Regions from separate parts of the Homo sapiens genome. Here regions 2, 3 and 4 are each linked to region 1. The links are contacts of gene promoters, found by promoter capture Hi-C in blood cells and fetal thymus (Javierre and others, 2016). All regions are on one chromosome and are shown on one strand. Each heading gives the region's core, a stretch centred on a gene start or on the middle of the fragment in contact. The rest is flanking DNA. Distances are from core to core; before and after follow the strand shown. Region 1 holds the start of SOX17 (SRY-box transcription factor 17). Region 2 has its middle 19 kb from the start of MRPL15. Region 3 holds the start of LYPLA1-TCEA1 (LYPLA1-TCEA1 readthrough). Region 4 has its middle 41 kb from the start of MRPL15.

What was found. The method cuts DNA at HindIII sites, captures the fragments that hold promoters and counts their contacts. A CHiCAGO score of 5 or more calls a contact.
Region 2: a contact is called between a fragment that was not itself captured here and the fragment with the promoter of SOX17 in region 1, in 2 of 17 cell types (endothelial precursors and megakaryocytes). The highest score is 14.5, in endothelial precursors.
Region 3: a contact is called between a fragment that was not itself captured here and the fragment with the promoter of SOX17 in region 1, in 1 of 17 cell types (endothelial precursors). The highest score is 7.1, in endothelial precursors.
Region 4: a fragment that was not itself captured here is called in contact with the fragment with the promoter of SOX17 in region 1 in 4 of 17 cell types (endothelial precursors, megakaryocytes, M1 macrophages and 1 more); the score reaches 25.3 in endothelial precursors.

The regions. Positions count from the first base shown.
Region 1 is chr8:54,456,485-54,459,184 of GRCh38, forward strand. SOX17 (SRY-box transcription factor 17) reads left to right here and starts at 1,451. Exons shown (of 2, transcript NM_022454.4): 1 at 1,451-1,961; 2 at 2,574-2,700. The coding sequence starts at 1,655. The HindIII fragment of the contact is 4,543 bases long and covers 1-2,700 here.
Region 2 is chr8:54,153,098-54,156,096 of GRCh38, forward strand. No RefSeq gene overlaps it. Among named protein-coding and RNA genes, the nearest start is that of MRPL15, 19 kb to the left of the region's middle. The HindIII fragment of the contact is 2,897 bases long and covers 1-2,799 here.
Region 3 is chr8:54,099,163-54,102,056 of GRCh38, forward strand. It overlaps LYPLA1-TCEA1 (LYPLA1-TCEA1 readthrough), which reads right to left and starts at 2,785. Exons shown (of 21, transcript NM_001425842.1): 1 at 2,593-2,785; 2 at 1,746-1,777. It overlaps LYPLA1 (lysophospholipase 1), which reads right to left and starts at 2,785. Exons shown (of 9, transcript NM_006330.4): 1 at 2,593-2,785; 2 at 1,746-1,777. The coding sequence starts at 2,661. RefSeq lists a silencer at 2,339-2,894. The HindIII fragment of the contact is 1,126 bases long and covers 995-2,120 here.
Region 4 is chr8:54,174,472-54,177,314 of GRCh38, forward strand. No RefSeq gene overlaps it. Among named protein-coding and RNA genes, the nearest start is that of MRPL15, 41 kb to the left of the region's middle. The HindIII fragment of the contact is 5,152 bases long and covers 1-2,843 here.

The sequences.
Region 1 (2,700 bases), core at 201-2,700:
GACGGTCTTGTTGTTGTAGTATCACACTCAAAGCAGCAGCATTTTACTTCTCAGATTCCAGGTGTAAGCTCTACTTTTTTATCACGCCTTCATAATAAAGAAAATCTGTTCTGGAGATTCGTATATTGATTTCTTTGCAAAGTTATCTCTAATTATGCAGGAATGGCTGTTAGTTGCCCTCAAAAACCAACACAAATACACAAACACAACAGCCTGGCTTAGTGATTATTAAGAGCTGCAAGTCTGAAGGCGGACTGCTGGGTGTGAATTCCACCTTCTCAACGCTGTAGTCTCCAGCAAGTTCCTTAACTTCTCTGCCTCCGTTTCCTTTCCTGTAAGATAGAGTCTACCTCAGGGTTAATATGAGGATATGCTTCTTTGCTAATGCTGGAGGGCGCTAGGAATAGCAGTGGCAGGCTGTGTCATTTCTCAGTGTTGTATAACGGCTTGTTTTAAAAGTCCCACTGAAAACTTTTTTTTTTTCCAGATCGAAACACAAGTTTAATAGTCATTCAGATTTCATTCCAGTCTAAAGAAACTTATAGAAATCTAATTATCTGCCAGAATAACCGCTTTAAACTGACTGTAAGAACCACAGTTACTTTGCAGCTAAAACAGATTGTTCTCTTCCCCCAAACAAACTCGGACATTTAGACAAATATTGCTGCTGTCTTTACATTTTAGAAATCAGTATTAAGGCTCACCTGTTACTGAACACATACGAGAAACAGTTTTGTTATGCGTATCTTATATACATCATGTATACATTTTCGTACTTTCACATGATGTGTATAATAAGATACACATAAAAACTGGTTGGCTTGTCATGAGTAAATGCTTTATTCTTTAGAGTGAAGGAATATTGGATACAGAACGTCGTTCCATATTTAATCTTGCTTTAGAAAATTAGGATTTATCTTGGACACAGCATTTTGAATATAACACAGGCAAGTTGAGTCCTGGGGGAAAAATTGTATTTTTAAATTTATTATCAACGGTGTCTTTCGCATTTGAGAAAACACATTTGAAGATGCCCATGCAGTTCCTTGGAAGTAAACTAGGTCACCCACCACTGAAACACCCTCGGCTTCTGCAAAAAGATGTGCTTTAAAGAGAATAGAATGGACGCTCGGTATGTTCATCTAAACGACCTTGGGCAAGTACGTCGATTCCAAGGTACAATCAGCCCTCCCAGACGGCTTTTCGAGTCTCCCTAACCCCGGTGGGAGAGGACGCGGCGCCAGAGCCCAGCTCCGGCTAGTTTTCCCGGGGGCAGGTGTAGCCTTGGGCGCGGGGCCGGGGGAGGGGCAAGGGGCGGGCGTGGGGTTGGACTGGGACGTGGGACTCGGACCACGGCCTGGGCGTGGGCCTAACGACGCGGGACCGGCCCGCCCTCGCCGCTCCATTGGCCACATCTGTGCAGAAAAGGCCCCGCGGCCCAGGGGCGCCCGCAGTGTCACTAGGCCGGCTGGGGGCCCTGGGTACGCTGTAGACCAGACCGCGACAGGCCAGAACACGGGCGGCGGCTTCGGGCCGGGAGACCCGCGCAGCCCTCGGGGCATCTCAGTGCCTCACTCCCCACCCCCTCCCCCGGGTCGGGGGAGGCGGCGCGTCCGGCGGAGGGTTGAGGGGAGCGGGGCAGGCCTGGAGCGCCATGAGCAGCCCGGATGCGGGATACGCCAGTGACGACCAGAGCCAGACCCAGAGCGCGCTGCCCGCGGTGATGGCCGGGCTGGGCCCCTGCCCCTGGGCCGAGTCGCTGAGCCCCATCGGGGACATGAAGGTGAAGGGCGAGGCGCCGGCGAACAGCGGAGCACCGGCCGGGGCCGCGGGCCGAGCCAAGGGCGAGTCCCGTATCCGGCGGCCGATGAACGCTTTCATGGTGTGGGCTAAGGACGAGCGCAAGCGGCTGGCGCAGCAGAATCCAGACCTGCACAACGCCGAGTTGAGCAAGATGCTGGGTGAGTCCGAGTCGCAGACCCAGGCGGCCGGGCGCGCTGGCGCGAATCGCTAGGCCGATTTCTTAAACCCCAAACTGTTCTTTGCGAGCCTGACGCCCAAAACCAGGGGTGTGTAGCGGCCACGTCCTTTCTTAAGGCTCTGGGTTCCCTTCCCGCTTCCCGCCCTCCGACCCTCCAAAGCAGCTTTCCGCCTTGCTCTCCGGCTCCCGGATTCCCCAGGTGGCCGGGGGCGCGGGTCCAACGGCTCTGGGAAGGCGACTTCCCGGCACCTCCGGGCGGCGCGAGAGCACCCTTGGCCCTGAACTGGGCCGGTTGTGTCCATCCCTCGACCCCTTCCCTAGTTAGGTGTCCTTTTCTGTTTTTCGAACGACCGGGTGATGGGTGAGCGGAAAGCCGCTTCCAGGAGACCAAAAGAAAGGGGTGCCTTTAGAGGACGGGTGTTCCCCAAGGGCTCGGACTCAGGAGTCCCAGATCTCCCTCTTTAACTTCACCCCGGTTGCGCAATTCAAAGTCTGAGGGGGGAGGTGCGTCCAGGTGGGGCCAGGTGGGGCCTGGAGCGGGAGCGCAGCCGATAAGCCCTGCGCCCCTCTCCCCCTTCCTTCCACTGTGCAGGCAAGTCGTGGAAGGCGCTGACGCTGGCGGAGAAGCGGCCCTTCGTGGAGGAGGCAGAGCGGCTGCGCGTGCAGCACATGCAGGACCACCCCAACTACAAGTACCGGCCGCGGCGGCGCAAGCAGGT
Region 2 (2,999 bases), core at 101-2,600, 300 kb before region 1:
GACCTCAACCTATTTGCATAGAAATGAACTTCCTTAAATTTAAACACATCCTGTGTTCTGTATTCATGTAAGAGGTTCCATTTTTTTCATATCAGAGTGTACTGGCTTTGCTTTAGGTAAGTTACTGCCTTGCCTTATTTGTGCCACAGGAGGTTTTCCATTTGTGATTCAGTTCACAATTGTATGTTTGGAGGGGCTGGTACTGCCTCAACAGGAAAAGTTCTTAATGGGGAACAAGGGAGGAAGTTAGTCACCTAAAGATAGACTGCACAGGCAACAGCCTTCCAGGCTCAGAGTGACCCTTGGGTTCCCTCCCCCATCCTCCAAGTAGAATGACTACACTACCCTAACAACAGTTACGGAAGGGAAAAGAGACAGTCAAACATTAGACTTACTTCACTGTGGTTGTCTTAGGTGGCCTACAGGTGAAAGGAAATTGGGAAAGAATGATAAAGGAAAGAAAGAAAACAGGAAACAGATGTCTGGTGATGAATAATGCTCAGATAGTACTTACTCAGTGAGCATGGGCTTAGTCACAAACAGCTGTATCCTGGTCTCAATATTAGAATCGTGCAGATAAGTTCTCAGCCAAAACAGGCACGTTCCACAAAATCTGTCTATTCTGTTTAATAAAGTTAATCCTCAAATTGCTGTATAGCCGGGAGACTCAAGTTCATTGTAACTACGCAGCAATACTGGGCTCTATGATGCTGATATACCATGGCCCTTCAGCCGTGTACAAGGATAATGGGGCAGAGAGTGTGCTAGCAGATGGTATTGTTATCTTGTTAAGGGTTCATATTACTTGGAAATCTAAGAATAAAAGTAAGAATGCTTCAGTCTAGATTTTAGTCCTCTCGTGGTATGTGGCTTCCAGTATATGTGGCTAGTTTGCATCCAATCCATTGAGTTAATATGGATTTTAAAATATTTTTTTAACTCCTTAGAGAAATAATTGCTAGGGATTTCCTGTCTATTGAGTTCCCGGGTTTTCTTTTTTAAAAATGCTACTCTCTGTTCTTTGACAATGAGAGTGGCTCTACCATAGCCGGGGAAGATGTCAGATAACAGCAGTGTAACCCAATTTAGTTCGTGTCAGAGAAAAAAGTGCGCTCTCTGATGTTCGCACAGATCCCAGAATGGCTGCATTTTGATGCTTTACTGAAAAGACATAGCATGGTTGAAGTAGCACAGCTTCCATGTCACCAAACCTGGATTTGAATCCAGGCTCTGACAGCAGCTGTGTGACCTCGGGCACATCACATAACTGCTGTGCTCTCATCTGTCTCACATGTGAAATGGAGATAATCATACCCACCTCTGTGCTTCTGTGTTTGGGAGACCCAGTGAGGTTATTTGCGGGGAGACACGAAGCTCAGCCAGTTTGCAGAGCCACCTGGAGCAGTTTACTTGGGCTCAGATGCCAAGACTAGCTGTGTGACCTTGATATGTTACTTAATATCTCTGCCTCAGTCTCACCATCTGAAAAATGGGGGATGATTAATCCTAATGCATATGGGTATGAAGATTGAAAGAAGTCAATATTTGTAAAGCACTTACCATAATGCCTGACACATAAGTGCCTCTGTAAGTGTTCATAAATCAAGTTTTTTTTTTTGAGACAGAGTCTCGCTCTGTCGCCAGGCTGGAGTGCAGTGGTGTGATCTCAGCTCACTGCAAGCTCCGCCTCCTGGATTCAAGTGATTATCCTGCCTCAGCCTCCTGAGTAGCTGGGATTATAGGCACCTGCCACCACACCCGTCTAATTTTATATTTTTAGTAGAGACAGGGTTTCACCATTTTGGTCAGGCTGGTCTTGAACTCCTGACCTTACATGATCCACCTGCCTCAGCCTCCCAAAGTGCTGGCATTATGGGCGTGAGCCACCATGCTCGACCTCACTTGGCATAATGTTTTGAAAGTTATCCATGTGGTGGCATGTTCCAGTACCTCATTCTTTTTTATGGCCAACTAGCTTTCCATCGTGTGGAGTGTGTATGCATTCATCAGTTGGTGGACATGTGGATTGTTTCCATGGTGGGGCTATTATAAATAATGCTACTGTAAACATATGTTTGCAAGTCTTTATGTGAACATGTTTTTCTTTTTCTTGGGAATATATTTAGCAGTGGAATTGCTGAGTAGATTAGCAAATTTATGTTTAACTTTTTTTTTTTTTTTTGAGACAGTGTCTCACTGTGTCACCCAGGCTGGAGTGCAGTGGCACCATCTTGGCTCACTGCAACCTCTGCCTCCCGGGTTCAAGCGATTCTCGTGTCTCAGTCTCCTGAGTACCTGGGATTACAGGTGCGCACCTCCATAGCCCACGTAATTTTTTTGTATTTTTAGTAGAAATGGGGTTTCACTATGTTGCCTAGGCTGGTCTCGAACACCTGGCCTCAAGTGATCCACCTGCCTCAGCCTCCCAAAGTGCTGGGATTACAGGTGTGAGCCACCATGCCTGGCCCATGTTTGACTTTTAAAGAAACTGCCAAATTGTTTTCCTAAGTGGCTGCACCATGTTACTCCCCCACAAGAAATGAATGTTCCTGTTTCTCACATCCTTGCCAACATTTGTTATTATCTGCATTTTTGATGATAACCATTCTAGTGGGCACGAAATGGTTTCTCATTGTGGGTTTGATTTGCATTTCACTAATAATGATGTGGAACATGTGGAATGAGAATAGCTTCTTGGCCATTTGTATGTAAGAGACTTCATATTCTTCTATGTACTTGAAATTTTATAAAGATAATTCTGATGATTATCGAGCATCCATATATATAGGAGTTTTTAAAAGCTTTATCTGTTCATCTTATTCAATCCTCACCAGACCCTTTTATTTATGCCATTTTATAGTTGAAAAAAATTGAGGCACAGAGAGGTCAAGTATTTAGTATGAGGACATCTAGCTCGAAAGAAGTATTAGGGCTAAGATTTAAACCCAAGTCAACTGGCTCCAGAGACAATGTTCTTTTTTTTTTTTTTTGAGACGAAG
Region 3 (2,894 bases), core at 308-2,807, 360 kb before region 1:
GAAGTGCTCATTATTGGCAAAGTTAGAGGATAGCAACCTTCTCCCTGACTTGCAACATCAAGAAAGGTTTGGCCATAAAATAGAGATTCTGCTATTCGAGTTTCATTTGGTAAAATAAGTTCATCATTTTCACAGGACCACTGGATTGCCAGAAAGAGTGCTGCAACCTTTTCTGTAACTCCATACAAAGTTTGTATTACATAACTCGACTTATTAGGCAAAAAATAGGAATCACTTTTAAGTGGTGGCTCACGCCTGTAATCCCAGCACTTTGGGAGGCTCAGGTGGGTGGATCATTTGAGGTCAGGAGTTCGAGACCAGCGTAACCAACATGGCAAAACTCTGTCTCTACTAAAAATACAAAAATTAGCTGGCATGGTGGCAAGCAACTGTAGTCCCAGCTACTCGGGAGACCCAGGAACCCAGAAGGTGGAGGTTGCAGTGAGTCAAGATCACGCCACTGCCCTCCAGCCAGGGCAACACAGCAGACCCTGTCTCCAAACAAACAAACAAAAATCTAGCCTAATGGCATTTTTTTTTTTTTTGAGTCTCACTCTGTGGCCCAGGCTGGAGTGCAGTCGTGCAATCTTGGCTCACTGAAGCCTCTGCCTCCCAGGTTCAAGTGATTCTCTTCTCTCAGCCTCCCTAGCAGCTGGGATTACAGGCATGCACCACCACACCCGGGTAATTTTTATATTTTTAGTAGAGATGGGGTTTCACCATATTGGCCAAGCTGGTGTCGAACTCTTGACATCAAGTGAACTACCCACCTCGGCCTCCCAAAGTGCTGGGATTACAGGTGTGAGCCACCGCGCCCGGCCCCAATGGTTCATTTTAAAGAAAATTTAGTCGTTCTGGGGCTACTTTATCAAAATTTATTTATCTTCAGTTTTCCTCTATTTCTGCAATTTTTCAACAACATTCATATTTTGCTTAAGTTTCACAGATTATCACCAATTTAAATATAAAAACAAAAACATCTCAATATAGAAAAAGCTTGAGTAAAAGATAAATCATGTATCTAAAGTTAGTACAAAAGGCCAGGCTCAGGCAGCTCCCACCTCTAATCTCTGTGCTTTGAGAGGCTGAGGCTGAAGGATCACTTGAGCCCAGGAGTTCAAAGCTGCAGTGAGCTAAGATCCTGCAACTGCACTCCAGCCTGGGCGACAGAGAGAGCCCTTGTCTCTAAAAATAATAACAAAAGAAAAAAGCAAACAAACAAAAAATAAAATAAAAATAAGTAGTTAGTACAACAAATTGTTTGATAAGCCTCCAAATAAATCTTTGAGTTGCCTCCCCTGCCTTTCAACTCATTAGAGTGAACATCTAATCCCTCTATTCAGAATGCTGCATGCCTTATGTTGCCACTAGTTCTCTTATCAAAATCAACTAGTTCTTCTCTTCAATCTGCTCTGAAATTTTAACTGCTCTGGAAAGCTCTCAATTGCACACCGTCCCTACTAACATTCCACGGATCTCTGGTATCCAATACCCAAAGCAACTAATGAGGAATTTGAAATTTTAATATGTTCCAGAAACCAGAGTTAAAAAATCAATAAACTCACGATGATAAGGGGAAAATTCTGAGGGTTTTCAAAACATAAAATCACCGCACTGTAAGATACATTAACTGGCAATCTTAAAATACCATTTTAGCGCCCTTAAACATTAAACCTTTGAACGCGTAAACAAAAGTTGCATGACCCAGTTTCATTACTGTTACTATTAATAATAATGGTACCTACCCAGTATCTCCCAATCCATGCAGGAAAATCACCTATAAGAGAAGAGGAAAATTAATAAGCAATGCCTAAATAAGCCCACACAGGATTGTTACACACTAGCTTTGCTTAAGGTGGAAAACGGAACGAAACCTACGAGAGAATTACACAACACTATCTTCGGCGACTTAATCTTTATCGACCTCTTTTAAATGGCAAAAATTCTGATCAACTTCTCCCTTTATTTCCTGAGATAATGAATGGGGGGGGGGTAGCACTGAGAGGTCCCAGTTAGACATTGAGTGCAAATGATCACATTCTAAGAAAAACAGTTTATCTCTTTCAAGTGAAATCAGGAACATCTCACATATCCTGTAGAATTTTTCCACTGCAAAAGCAAGCTTCCGGAGGCAAAAATAAGTTTGACTTTTCATACACGAGTTTTCTAAAAAACAGTACGTCTGACCTTGTAGGACACTCAATCTTCAAACTTCTTTCATTGAGGATAAGAGTGCGAGGTGACAATAAGGCGATTTCCTGGCGGACTTAGGTTTCCCTCACCCACACACCAGGCAGAAACACGCTGCAGAGGCTGACGCCGTGCCCTAGGCCGGCCCGCGGGGGTCCCGGGGCCACACTTCCTCCGCAATGCAGGGAGGAGCTGGGGACTGGCCCTCGCGCCGGCTGTGACCCCCCGGCTGCCCCCGCCCCCCGCGGACCCGGCCGCGCGGACCATTCGCACCCCACCCGGGCCGGGAGGAGCGTCCTCGTCCGCAGGCCGCCACGCGCCCGCAACGCCCACCCCGCGCGAGGGGCAACCACCGGTGGCCGGCCCAGTGGACCCCTCCGAGCCCACGCCTACGCCACTCACCGCAGCGGTGGCCTTCCGGGCGGCGGGCACGATGGCGGGCAGCGGGGTTGACATGTTATTGCCGCACATACACCGCCTCAGCTCACAGCGCAAGCGGAAGGAAGAGCGGGCGCCCGGCCGCGGCCCAAGGGCGTGCGAGCGGCGAGTCCCGGCCGGCCCCACCGGGCGCACGCTCAGGCGCGTGCGCGCCAACGCGGCCCCGCGCTACCTTCCGCGCGCGCCCGCGCGTCCAGGGTCCGCCCTGCCCTGCCCCTCGCCCGCCGCCCCTCCCTCGGCACCTCACAATGTCCGGGCGGCTCCCT
Region 4 (2,843 bases), core at 36-2,535, 280 kb before region 1:
TGGGGCCTGTGCGCTGAGCTAGGGGGCCCCGCGAGCATTACTCACCGGCTTCCGCTTCTGCTGTGATTTTGGCTGGACTCCTCCCACCTGGGCTGCCGCATTTCTTGCAGTTTTCTGAGCGCAGTTCTCGCGTCTTTCCAGGTTGTTTGAGAAATGCAGGGAATACTTTTCTGCTTAAATTCTCCAGGGTCAGTTTTTCTGCTGCTGCGGAAGACACCAGGCGTATTGAATGGTGGCAGCAGGCAGGGCTGCATCAATTTACCAGGACGGGGGTGAGAGCCGGGGCCTAAGCGGTCGCCTCCGCTCTTGCGTTTTCCCGGAGCCTGTGGGCTGTGTGATGCCGGGGCCTCCCGCAGCCCCGCTGCGCCCGCACCCACGCTTCAGGGCGATTCCCCGCAGGCATAACGGTGCCACTTCCTTAACCAGGCTAAACTCCCGGGCTGTTGGGAAAGTTCATGCCATCACATACCCAGGATGTGTTATTTGCTTTTAGAGCCCTTTGAGTTTTCCTCTGGAGCACTTCAGACACTTTAAAGTTTATTTTTATAGTTATTTGATTTCTGTCTGCCGTCCTCGTTATGCGGAGTCCACCAGGGCCGGGATCTGGGCTATTTTATGCCTGGCACCAAGTAAGTGCTCAGACGCCATCTTGTTGACCTGAAATTTTCGAAGGTGAGGGCCTCAGAGACCCTTGATGAGAGAGTAATTTTAGAAAGGTTTACAGGCTGTGGCCTGGCGCTGCACCCGGGTTACTCCACTCCGGTTCCCAGTTGCGTCCTTCAGGCCCGGGGACTGCCTGGGTCCCCTTGTCTAGATCCTTCCTGAACATTCTGTAGGGAATAGGGCGGTGCCGGTTTATTCTACCTAAAGCGTGCGTTTGTAAATGTCAATGCGCAGCAGTTCGGTGGGGTTAGAAGGCTGGCTAGGAGGAAGCGAGACAATGGGTGAAAATCAAGGTTGAACCCAGGAATCCGGGGAAAGGAGACACCGTGAGTGAAGGAAAACGGGGAGCCGCTTGGGAGTGGAGCCCCCGGCAGAGCTGGGGGAGTAAGCCCCGTGTAGCAGGGAGCCGCTGCCAGTCGCTGTTGCGAAGCCTGGTAGGTCTTGGCCCAGCCCCAAACCCTACAATCTGCGCTGTGTGCCTTTGCCACAGACGGCGCTGCCTGGGCAGGGAGAGCCCTGGGGCTGCGGTGTGGGATGCAGGGATGGGAACCACATCATTGCTGAGGGCTCAAGCCACAATCTGGATGAAGAGGGGTCTGGAATCATGTGTCTATGGTGCCCACTACTTCCCTTTTCATCACCCTTGGTCGGACGGGTTCCACGGCCTGTACTTTCATGCCCGCTTGAGGTGGGGCTGGGTCACCCACACCTGTGGCCTTGAAAGGAGCCCCTACCAAATCCTCAGCCGGAGGCAGTGAAAGCGACCGTCGTTCAACCAAATCTGTATTTCACCCAGAAAAGGTGAAATCGGTGCCAGCGTTGTGCTGCAAAGTCCTGCCTGTGATCCCAGTTCCCGTAGAAACAGGTCAAAATCAAGATGGAGATGGTGAAGTTCACGCCTCATACGCGGAAGCCGTTAGGAGAACTGTGATGAATCCAGTCCGGGCTCTGTCATGGGTGGTGCCAAAGATGTGTGTAACTCTGTTTCCTGCTTATAGCACTGGTCTCCTACTCGACCCCTAGGGGAGAGAGGGCCTGTGGGGCTGTAGGGAACAGGAATGGCCCTGGGAGGGCAGCTGCCTGCTCCAACTGCAGCTGGTCCTAGCTGCCGTGACCTTTTTTTTTTTTTTAACTGAAACTGAGTCTCGCTCTGTTGCCCAGGCTGGAGCACAGTGGCGCCATCTCGGCTCATTGCAACCTCCACCTCCCAGGTTCAAGCGATTCCCGTGCTTCAGCATCCCGACTAGCTGAGATTATAGGCATGTGCCACCACACCCGGCTAATTTTTGTATTTTTAGTAGAGATGGGGTTTCACCATGTTGGCCAGGCTGGTCTGGAACTCCTGACCTCGGGTGATCAGCCCACCTCAGCCTCCCAAATTGCTGGGATTACAGGCATGAGCCACCGCACCCGGTCAGCCATTAGCTTTTTACAGAAAGCCTGGTAAGGGCTCTAGACCCCCCACGGTGGTGTGTGTGTGAGAGAACCCGTACATAGACACATACATACACACACACACACACAGACACACACACACGAACCTGGGAAAACTCAAGTCTAACCAAAGCATTAGGTCCTGTTTTACAAAAGGGAGAGGAGCTTATTAGTTCCTTGGGGAGACTGATCATATGAATGGGAAACATTGACCAAAGGGGACAAGTGAAAGTCATGAGGTCAAAGCCATAAGCTAGGTAGAAGGGGCAGCCAGGTGTATGGGCAAGAGCCCTTGCTTAGAATATGGATGAGCATATTCATGCCTGTAATCCCAGCACTTTGGGAGGTCGAGGCGGGCGGATCACCTGAGGTCGGGAGTTCAAGACCAGCCTGACCAGCATGGAGAAACCCCGTCTCTACTAAAAATACAAAATTAGCCGGGCATGGTGGCGCATGCCTGCAATCCCAGCTACTCGGGAGGCTGAGGCAGGAGAATCGCTTGAACCCGAGAGGCAGAGCTTGCAGTGAGCTGAGGTCGCACCAGTGCACTCCAGCCTGGGCAACAAGAGCAAACTCCATCTCAAAAAAACAAAAACAAACAAAAATAAACAACAACAACAACAAAAACAGGATAAATTAAGGAGTAGAATGCTCTATTTAAAAGACTGAGGAGGAAAGTCAAAGTTTCGCCAGCTGTGCTGTCTTTCCTTTGGTAATGGTGTCTGTGCGTGTAGGTGCTGGCTCCT